Linked DNA regions of Homo sapiens: region 1 is linked to region 2. The links are contacts of gene promoters, found by promoter capture Hi-C in human tissues and cell types (Jung and others, 2019). All regions are on one chromosome and are shown on one strand. Each heading gives the region's core, a stretch centred on a gene start or on the middle of the fragment in contact. The rest is flanking DNA. Distances are from core to core; before and after follow the strand shown. Region 1 overlaps DDR2 (discoidin domain receptor tyrosine kinase 2). Region 2 holds the start of UAP1 (UDP-N-acetylglucosamine pyrophosphorylase 1).

Region 1 (5,231 bases), core at 19-2,518, 180 kb after region 2:
GTGGACTGTAAAAATATGCAGGTTACTGGGCTCAGCTTCAGGTATACCAAAGCAAAATCTCTAACAGGAGGCTCACAAACATGTATTCTAAAACCTCTCCAGGCTTTTCTAATGCTATTGGTCCATGGACTGGCTTTGGGAATCACTGCCTTACAGAAAGCCTAATAGAACTCTCTTGCTTTCCACATGAAGAAACAGACCGAAAGAGAGCCAGGAGCTTGCTCAGATCCCACATGGTATAAGTGGTAGAACCGGGAGTGGATGCGAAGTCTTGATTTTCAAGGGTTGTGTGCTCAGTGGAATTACAGGCTTTAGAGCCAAGTTCTAAGATGAGTTAGTATTTACTCAAGGAATGGCCTTTGCAGTTAAAACTTACCTGTAGAATGTGTGATTAGTGGGAAACATGAAATATTGGGTGGAAAATGCTTATCATATTGCCTGACACTTGGTAAATGCTTCTAAATGGATGTCATCATTACTGCATTTTACTGAATTTAAGCAACTCACGACTCTAAGATGCATCATTACTTTATGTGCCTCTAAGAAAGAAAGAAAAACTACTGCCAGTTAAACTATGACACTATTTGCTTGCGAAGTGCATCCAGATTTCAGAGATGTCAGTACGTGAAAGAATGGGCAGTGTGGTATTTCACTTCTCTTTTCTCAACTCTATGAAGATTCTTACTTTACTGAATTAGACACTTAACAGTACATGAAAATTCCTGAAGGAGAAGTATACTTAGTGTGTTTGAGGAACAACAAGGAGGCCAGTGTGGCTGATGGGGAAAGTGGGGTAAGGACAAGGTCCAAGACAGCCAGGGGATGTCTGATTCCATGTCTTCACTATTGTGAATAGTGTGAACAGAAGAGTTTCATGATATGACTTTCATTTCTTTTATGACTACATAGTATTCCATGCTGTATATGTACCACATTTTCTTTTCTTTTCTCCTTTGCTTTTTCTTTCTTTCTTTTTTTTCGTTTCTTTTTTTTTATTACAGTTTTATTTTTTATTTATTTTTTTTGGAATAATTTTTTTTTTTATTATACTTTAAGTTTTAGGGTACATGTGCACATTGTGCAGGTTAGTTACATATGTATACATGTGCCATGCTGGTGCGCTGCACCCACTAACGTGTCATCTAGCATTAGGTATCTCTCCCAATGCTATCCCTCCCCCCTCCCCCGACCCCACCACAGTCCCCAGAGTGTGATATTCCCCTTCCTGTGTCCATGTGATCTCATTGTTCAATTCCCACCTATGAGTGAGAATATGCGGTGTTTGGGTTTTTGTTCTTGCAATAGTTTACTGAGAATGATGTTTTCCAATTTCATCCATGTCCCTACAAAGGACATGAACTCATCATTTTTTATGGCTGCATAGTATTCCATGGTGTATATGTGCCACATTTTCTTAATCCAGTCTAACATTGTTGGACATTTGGGTTGGTTCCAAGTCTTTGCTATTGTGAATAATGCCGCAATAAACATACGTGTGCATGTGTCTTTATAGCAGCATGATTTATAGTCATTTGGGTATATACCCAGTAATGGGATGGCTGGGTCAAATGGTATTTCTAGTTCTAGATCCCTGAGGAATCGCCACACTGACTTCCACAATGGTTGAACTAGTTTACAGTCCCACCAACAGTGTAAAAGTGTTCCTATTTCTCCACATCCTCTCCAGCACCTGTTGTTTCCTGACTTTTTAATGATTGCCATTCTAACTGGTGTGAGATGATATCTCATAGTGGTTTTGATTTGCATTTCTCTGATGGCCAGTGATAATGAGCATTTTTTCATGTGTTTTTTGGCTGCATAAATGTCTTCTTTTGAGAAGTGTCCGTTCATGACAAACCCACAGCCAATATCATACTGAATGGGCAAAAACTGGAAGCATTCCCTTTGAAAACTGGCACAAGACAGGGATGCCCTCTCTCACCGCTCCTATTCAACATTGTGTTGGAAGTTCTGGCCAGGGCAATCAGGCAGGAGAAGGAAATAAAGGGTATTCAATTAGGAAAAGAGGAAGTCAAATTGTCCCTGTTTGCAGACGACATGATTGTTTATCTAGAAAACCCCATTGTCTCAGCCCAAAATCTCCTTAAGCTGATAAGCAACTTCAGCAAAGTCTCAGGATACAAAATCAATGTACAAAAATCACAAGCATTCTTATACACCAACAACAGACAAACAGAGAGCCAAATCATGAGTGAACTCCCATTCACAATTGCTTCAAAGAGAATAAAATACCTAGGAATCCAACTTACAAGGGATGTGAAGGACCTCTTCAAGGAGAACTACAAACCACTGCTCAAGGAAATAAAAGAGGACACAAACAAATGGAAGAACATTCCATGCTCATGGGTAGGAAGAATCAATATCGTGAAAATGGCCATACTGCCCAAGGTAATTTACAGATTCAATGCCATCCCCATCAAGCTACCAATGACTTTCTTCACAGAATTGGAAAAAACTACTTTCAAGTTCATATGGAACCAAAAAAGAGCCCGCATCGCCAAGTCAATCCTAAGTCAAAAGAACAAAGCTGGAGGCATCACACTACCTGACTTCAAACTATACTACAAGGCTACAGTAACCAAAACAGCATGGTACTGGTACCAAAACAGAGATATAGATCAATGGAACAGAACAGAGCCCTCAGAAATAATGCCGCATATCTACAACTATCTGATCTTTGACAAACCTGAGAAAAACAAGCAATGGGGAAAGGATTCCCTATTTAATAAATGGTGCTGGGAAAACTGGCTAGCCATATGTAGAAAGCTGAAACTGGATCCCTTCCTTACACCTTATACAAAAATCAATTCAAGATGGATTAAAGATTTAAACGTTAGACCTAAAACCATAAAAACCCTAGAAGAAAACCTAGGCATTACCATTCAGGACATAGGCGTGGGCAAGGGCTTCATGTCCAAAACACCAAAAGCAATGGCAACAAAAGCCAAAATTGACAAATGGGATCTAATTAAACTAAAGAGCTTCTGCACAGCAAAAGAAACTACCATCAGAGTGAACAGGCAACCTACAACATGGGAGAAAATTTTCGCAACCTACTCATCTGACAAAGGGCTAATATCCAGAATCTACGATGAACTCAAACAAATTTACAAGAAAAAAACAAACAACCCCATCAAAAAGTGGGCAAAGGACATGAACAGACACTTCTCGTTTCTTTTTTTTTGAGATGGAGTCTCTCTCTGTCGCCCAGGCTGGAGTGCAGTGGTGTGATCACTGCACCTCCGCCTCCCAGATTCAAGCAATTTTCCTGCTTCAGCCTCCTGAGTAACTGGGATTACATGGGCACACCACCATGCCTGGCTAATTTTTGTATTTTTGATGGAGACAGGGTTTTACCATGTTGGCCAGTCTGGTCTCAAACTCCTGACCTCAAGTGATCCGCCCACCTGGGCTGCCCAAAGTGCTGGGATTACAGGCGTGAGCCACCATGCCTGGCCCACATTTTCTTTATCGAATCCACTATTGATGGGCACCTAGGCTGATTTAATGTCTTTGCTATTGTGAATAGTGTGAGCGGAAGAATTTCATGATTTGATTTACATTCTAAAAGATACATGGGAAAAGGTGGACAAAGGGAGATCAGTTAGGAAATTATTGCACTATTCCTGGCAATGGAAGACAGTGAATTAGCTTATTATGATAGTAAAATATGTGAGAAGAAGTAGGTGGGATATGGGAATATTTTTAGGGTAGCCAGTAGAATCTTCTCTCAGTGGATGGACTGAATACAGGGTATTGAAGGAGTCAAGAATGGCCTCAAGATTTTTGGCTTGAGTCGTTGAAAGAATGGAACCTGAAAAAAAAAAAAAAGACTGAAGGATGAGCTTTGGAGGGAGTCTGTATTTTACTCAATGTTATCTTTATTCCTTATTTACATCTATCTCTAAAGTTTACCTCTTTTTTTAAATAAATATTTTTAAATACCTATTTTCTCCCCAATATGCACTGAGAAATAAAAATGAATAAGATACAGTGGCTTTATTCCCCTCAAAATTTTGCCACCTGCAGGGGAGATAGGACTCACACGTGGTACATTACAAAGCAGTATGTATCTAATAGTATAAGAAAGATATTTAAAATGTGAGAAATCAGAGAAAGGAGGCATTCATTGTAATTGGCCCTATCCTCCCCTCAAAATGCTTGCTTTTGTTGAGTACAAGTTCATTACATTGGAAAAGGAGAATGCTAGCATAATAACTTTAACTAGTTTTTTCACTTTGGGTAAACTGCCTCCTTGCTGTACCTCAAACCACCTCCACAACAAGCATGCTTTTTCCTCAAGTTTACCTTTGCATTTGCTGTTCCCCTTGCATAAACCATCATCCCTGCAAGAGTCACCTGGTTGCTGTCTTCCTTCACTCAGGTCTCTGCTCCGAGTCACCTTATCTAAGAAGCCTACCTTGATTTCTTTATATAAAAGAATGCCTATTCCTTTTGCATACTTTTTCTTCACAGCACTTGCCATCTTCTCTCACATTATATATTTATTTGCTTTATTGGCTGTTTCCCCACATGAGAATGTAAACTCAGTGACAAAAGGCACTTTGTTTTGTTTACCACTGTATTCCCGCAAGGCCAATGAATTGCTTAACGAATTATTTAATAAATATAGGAATTAAAATAAACCATGGGTTTGGAAAGCAATAAGCAAATGGGGTTGGAGATAGGACTGGACTCTGAACACAGCGTTGGTTTCAGAAGAGAGAGAAGACACTAGAGAACAGCTCTCTGACTAAGCTACATGCCTCTGTGGCAGCCTGGAATCTTGGGACACACGGCTTGCACCAGGCCACTCTTTTGGTTAAAGCAAAGGTTAAAGTCTGGTGTATTGGGACAAACTTTGGATAGAGATACAGAATGTGATCTACGTCAATCCCTACTACTTAATAGCTGTGGGCCTTCTGCCAGTTTCCTCATACAGGATGAGTATCCCTTATCTAAAATGCTTGGGACCAGAAGTGTTTCAGATTTCAGAATTCTTGGACTTTGGAATATAATATAATATAATATAATATAACATAACATAATACAATACAATACAATATAATATAATATAATATAATATAATATAATATAGTATAATGTAATGTAATGTAATATAATATAATATAATATAATATAATATAATATAATATAATATAATATAATATAAATTTACCCAGGTGAGCATCCCAAATCCACAAATCCAA
Region 2 (5,363 bases), core at 654-3,153:
TAAAAGTACAAATGTGATTTTATAGTAGTTCATTAAAAACATTGAGCTGGACCTCAGTTCTATCTTTTTTCTTTAAAGGATTGCTAACTAATAATTTTGCTCTTTACTCAGTCATTCATCTATGACTTATAGAATGCCTATAATATTCCAGACATTATCTTAGGTTCTTTCTCATTTTTTACTATACCCATGTGAAATAGGTATTAGCTTCATTTCATAAAAGGACATTGGAGTTTGGAGTGGTTAAATGACTTACCCAAAGTCACACAGTTAGTAAGCGTAGACTGATTTTGAATCTGGGTCTCCTAGTTTGAATTAATAAGTGCTCAATAATAAATAATAACTAAAGGTTATTTAGTGTTTACTGTTTTACATACTTCATTTATATCGATTGGTTTAATACAACCACCAAATGGCATTTTCATCTTTATTGTCTGTTTTTTATAGATGAGAAAACTGATAGCACAAGTAGCTTGCCAAAGATCACAAGCAATAAAGCTGAAATTGTCTTCAGATCCCATGATTAAGAAACCAATCACTACACTATAAACCAATCACTACACTATTCTTCTTTCAAAGAAACGAAGGAAGTTCTAGGATCATGAGAGATGGAGAGTATTCAATCTCCTGAATGTAAATCTACCAGCATTACTTACCAAGTTTAAGTTTTTCTGTTGTTACTTGAGGCAGTGGGTGATTATGCAATTGGTAAAGGGAATGAAAAGGCCTTTGCACCCAAGAAAGTAGAAGAAAGGCGCCTGAATCTCTTTATGATAGGTGGTATGTTAAATCTAGGTATTTTCGTATTTCAACATATTCCACTTCTTGCAAAAGCTGCAAAATGCAACACAACTTTAAATGTAAACATAGCTTCCAAGGGCACAGTGCTGAACATATAATAACCTGTGTGTGCACACCCACACTAGGTTATGTAACAGGACTGTAAACACTGGTCCTGGAATGGCCTGGGAGGTCATCTAGGTCCTCCACCATCTTTCTGCAGAGTACTGAGGCCTAGCGACGTTAAGTCTGCAAACTCACAAAGATGACCCCGGGCTTATACTACCTTAGGTTACCTACTACCTTTGCTTGCATTTCCTCTCTCCTTTCCTGTCTGTTTGTGCAAAAGAAAAAAGGCCTGGCTTCGCCTTCTTGGGAGCCAAAACACAACCAAACAGAGAGCGAGTTTGGAGCCCGGCCAGGCATCTTGTGAACTGCACACAAAATAACTAGCCCAAGGTCAGAGAGCGCGCCAGGCCCGCCCTGAAAGTTTCTCCGCAGGAAAATCCACCGCCCTTTCCCAACCACCCGCGTGGGTGGCTCGGAAATCCGCCACCCTGGGGACACAGCTCCCTGCCCATCTCTGTGGCCCGCTTGTGCCCCGTGCCGCTGGGCCGACTAAGAGCCTCGGGCTCGCACCTCCCAGTACAACCTAGGGACGTCAGGGGTCCTGGGACCCACGAGCCGCTCTCTGCCGGCCGGCTCCTGGCCCCTCCTAGCAGACCCAACCGACATCCTTCACCCTCAGTTAGTGCGCAGGAGGGACCGGGACGCCAGCCGACTGCGCTCCAGAACTATTCCCATTGGGCCAGAGAATGAGTGACGCACTAGGCCCCGCCCCGGCCCGGTGGGTTACTCCTTTCATGCCCGGCCCCCATCCCTAGCCCCGCCCCGGCGCCCCGGGCCGCGGCCGCCTCCGCGTCCGCGTCGTCGTCTGTGCTCCCGGCGCTGACGTGTCTGGGCGGTCGGCTTCCACTCCTTCAGGCGTCGGCAGCCACTAGTCGTGGCGAGAGGGGCGGGGTGGCCGGGGCTGGCGCTCCACTTGGCCCCCGCTCCCGGCCCGCCCCGCCGCCGCGGCCCCCCGGATGAGGGTATATATTCGGAGCGAGCGCGGGACGCCGATGAGTGGCCGCGCGGAAGGAGCTGGAGACGGTCGTAGCTGCGGTCGCGCCGAGAAAGGTGAGGGGCTCCCAGCCCAGCGAGGAGACGGCGGGGCTCGGGACCCGGGCGGGCGGAGGGCCTGGCCCCACCGCACACACGGCCACGCGCTCAGACGTGGACACGCGTCGCACGAACGTGCACAGCGCGGGCAGCCGAGCACACGCCGAGGAGCCTCCCGCTCGCCCGCAGACACACACCCCAGCCCGTGCGCCCCGCAGTCGCACCCCATCCTCCGCCACCCCGCGAGAGGGTGTGTGGGCTGGGCAGCCGGGTGGATGGCGGGGCCAGGGATGGAATGAGCGCGCCCCAGATGGACTGGGGGCGTTGTGGGAGGAGGTCTGGGCCAGTGTCTGAGTCCGAGGGGGTCGTGTAGGCGTGTGGGGTTGGGAGTGGGGCCTCTCCCGGGTGGGCAGTAGAGACCTCGAGGCTCTCAGGCTAGGGCCTTGTGGACAGTTATACCAAGTGTGGGGGCCTGTAGTGGGACAGGAGATCGTTGGCACTGTCAGGTGGAAGCGAGTTGGTGTGTCTTGAATATATGAGGAAAAGATTTGAGAGGTCTGACAAAGACAGGGGATACATTTGGAGGACAGGACAGTGGGACAAAACCTGTTTGCTTGCCACTTTTTTCTTTCTTTTTTTTGGTTTGGTTTGCCATGATACTGGTAGTGAGAGAGAATTGAAATTTCTGGGTTTCCCCTCTCTTGGCCAAGCAGAAGGATGGTATTGGAGGGCTGAGCACACGTATGCTGAACATATGGCTGCTTGAACTTTGGCCTGTCGCTGTGCTACACTTACTTCTACATGGTTTATGAAATCTGAAATCAGGTAATAGGATTATGATCATATGTGTGTGTCATTTGGTATTGCAAAAGTTTAAGGACTTTTAGGTGAAATTCACTGGGTGTGGATCCAAGAGTTCGCCGGAAACTCAAGGCAGTTGTCTATTCCTTCACGGTTAGTCAGTTGGCTCACTTAGCTGGAGCAAAGAAAGACTTCATAGGCTGTGCTGCCAAGCATTTATAGGATTCAGTTGGTGGTTATGTCTCAACTCTGATACTGTTTTTCAAAAGCTTTAAGAGGTTTACTTATTCATTTCGAGGGCATACGTATACCAGCAGAGATAGGGGCTGGGTGGGGGAAGCCAGAAAAGGAGGGAGAAATACTGGATTTCTTTAATACTGGTATTTAAATTCTAATAAAAATATATTTGATAATGGTAGATTATTACCAAATTTTTCATATATTTTGATGCAGATGGATTAGGCTGTGGGCATGTACCAAGTTTTGTCATAATTTCTCGAGCAGATTTTCAACTTTTTCAGATTTCGGTTGTCAAAATAAAAATCCATATCTTTTAACTCTTCTGTTAATTGCTGCTTACCATTACACGTGCCTCTAAACATCGTTAATGGGAAACATGCTACTATTTTTGTGGCATGAAGGTGCTTATATCTGCCTCAAATAAATATAATAGATGAATTGTGCTTGTCCAAAACTCAAGTATGGTCGTTACATTATGAACATTATACAACATGTAGATGAACACATGTTACCAGTGGTTTACGCCCAGATATCAAAGTTTAACCTATGAGGTACCCTTTTTTTTTTTATTTTTATTTTTTGAGACGGAGAGTCTCACTCTGTCGCCAGGCTGGAGTTCAGTGGCGTGATGTCGGCTTACTACAACCTCCGCCTCCCCGGTTCAGGCGATTCTCCTGCCTCAGCCTCCTGAGTAGCTGGGACTACAGGCGCGTGCCACCATGCCCAGCTAATTTTTGTATTTTTAGTGGAGATGGGGTTTCACCATGTTGGCCAGAATGGTCTCCATCTCTTGACCTCATGATCCGCCCGCCTCGGCCTCCCAAAGTACTGGAATTACAGGCGTGAGCCACCGCGCCCGGCCCTATGAGGTATCTTATTTGCATGGATTCATTTTCCCAAGTGTCTGAAGGTGGAGGAGTATCTAATGATCTTTTAGGAAAAGTTTGGTTTATATCTTAAAATGTTATAGTAATATGTTTGTGTATGCCTTTTATCAGACAGAGCACTCTTTACTCTTGACTATCTTGAAGGCATGTGAGAAAGGTTGGTTGTCTTATATTCATGAGGAAATCTATGCACAGGGAGGTAAAATGATTGCATAGAATCAAATGATAGAGAAGGACCAAGAACAGGGACTTCCTATTCTTTGGTTATCTGGTTCCTTGCTGATCTTCCTACTACAATGTACTCCCTTAAATCAGAGGCAAAGCAGCAGCATAAATAAGGTCTTGGGAAAGACTACATTCCTTGGAAAATAATTTAATATAAATCTGTTCCTCTCAAGTGTCTTTTTTAATGTGATTTTTTAAAATTAAAAAATAATAGCATCATGACTCTTGAAACCTATATAAATCAATAGGAATGCCTTTTAATACCATAATGAACATTGAAAGCTGAGTGTTGTTATTACCACCTCAGGGAACACACAGATGTAGGTTCTCTAGACCTGAGCTTGTAAATGGAGTTTGATGTTTAATGATCCTGGTGAGGTAGATACTATTATTAATCTCATTTTACAGATAAGGTAACCGAGGCATGGGGAAATTAAGTGGCTCAGCTTAGCCTAGAATTGTGCTCTGAACTACCATGTGTATTACTTTTCACTGTTCTTATAGGAAGAGAAGATAAGTGTCTTTAGAACCTACTTTTAACCTCTGTCTCTCACATCGAAGCAATTATAATGCAGTGATGATTCTTTACAGTGACCCTCAAATTTATTCCTTTCACTCTCATTTTCTCTGCCACTAATCTGGTTCAGACCTTTGGTATTTCATACCTGCAGTTGTCTTTTAACTTCTTTTCCTGCTTCTAGTTGTCCCTCCTTACAATCTATTGTATCCATTGCTCCTTTCTCTCATCTCTTTAAAGCATGGTAACACTGCCCTGTTTGAGAATCTACTGTTCGCTTTCTATTACTTATTCTCTGAAGTCTAAATTCTTTTGGTTAGTTTTCAGGCTTTTCATGATCTAGCCCTACCCCAGGCCATTTTATATCATTTGTCATACGTTAACCTTCTTACTGCTTTCCATCCCACACGTGCTTGCTCATCATGGCCACCAGGCTCTGCTTGTTTCCTAATCTTTTATTTTTTTGAGATAGAATTTCCTGTTGCTGAGGCTGGAGTGACATGATTACGCCTCATTGTAGCCTCGACCTTCCGAATTCAGGTGTTCCTCCCACCTCAGCCTTCCAAGTAGCTGGGACTACAGGCATATGTTACCACATCTGGCTAATTTTTGTGTTTTTTGTAGGGGTGGGGTTTTGCCATGTTGCCCAGGTTGGTCTTGAACTCCTGAGCCCAGGCCTGTGCTGGGATTACAGGTGTGAGCTACCATGCCTGGCCTCTAATCTTATCTATGTAGTCTGCCCAACCCTTAAC

Evidence for each region. The method cuts DNA at HindIII sites, captures the fragments that hold promoters and counts their contacts. A contact is called where the count stands out against the background at its distance.
Region 1: a contact is called between a fragment that was not itself captured here and the fragment with the promoter of UAP1 in region 2, in 1 of the 25 tissues and cell types used here (aorta).

Annotation. Positions count from the first base shown.
Region 1 is chr1:162,736,128-162,741,358 of GRCh38, forward strand. All of the region lies in intron 3 of DDR2 (discoidin domain receptor tyrosine kinase 2), which reads left to right. Among named protein-coding and RNA genes, the nearest start is that of HSD17B7, 52 kb to the right of the region's middle. The HindIII fragment of the contact is 7,364 bases long and covers 1-4,950 here.
Region 2 is chr1:162,559,819-162,565,181 of GRCh38, forward strand. It overlaps UAP1 (UDP-N-acetylglucosamine pyrophosphorylase 1), which reads left to right and starts at 1,904. Exons shown (of 11, transcript NM_001324116.5): 1 at 1,904-1,959. UAP1-DT (UAP1 divergent transcript) reads right to left here and starts at 1,535. Exons shown (of 3, transcript XR_426859.4): 1 at 1,420-1,535; 2 at 657-834. RefSeq lists a silencer at 1,493-2,392. The HindIII fragment of the contact is 20,893 bases long and covers 1-4,621 here.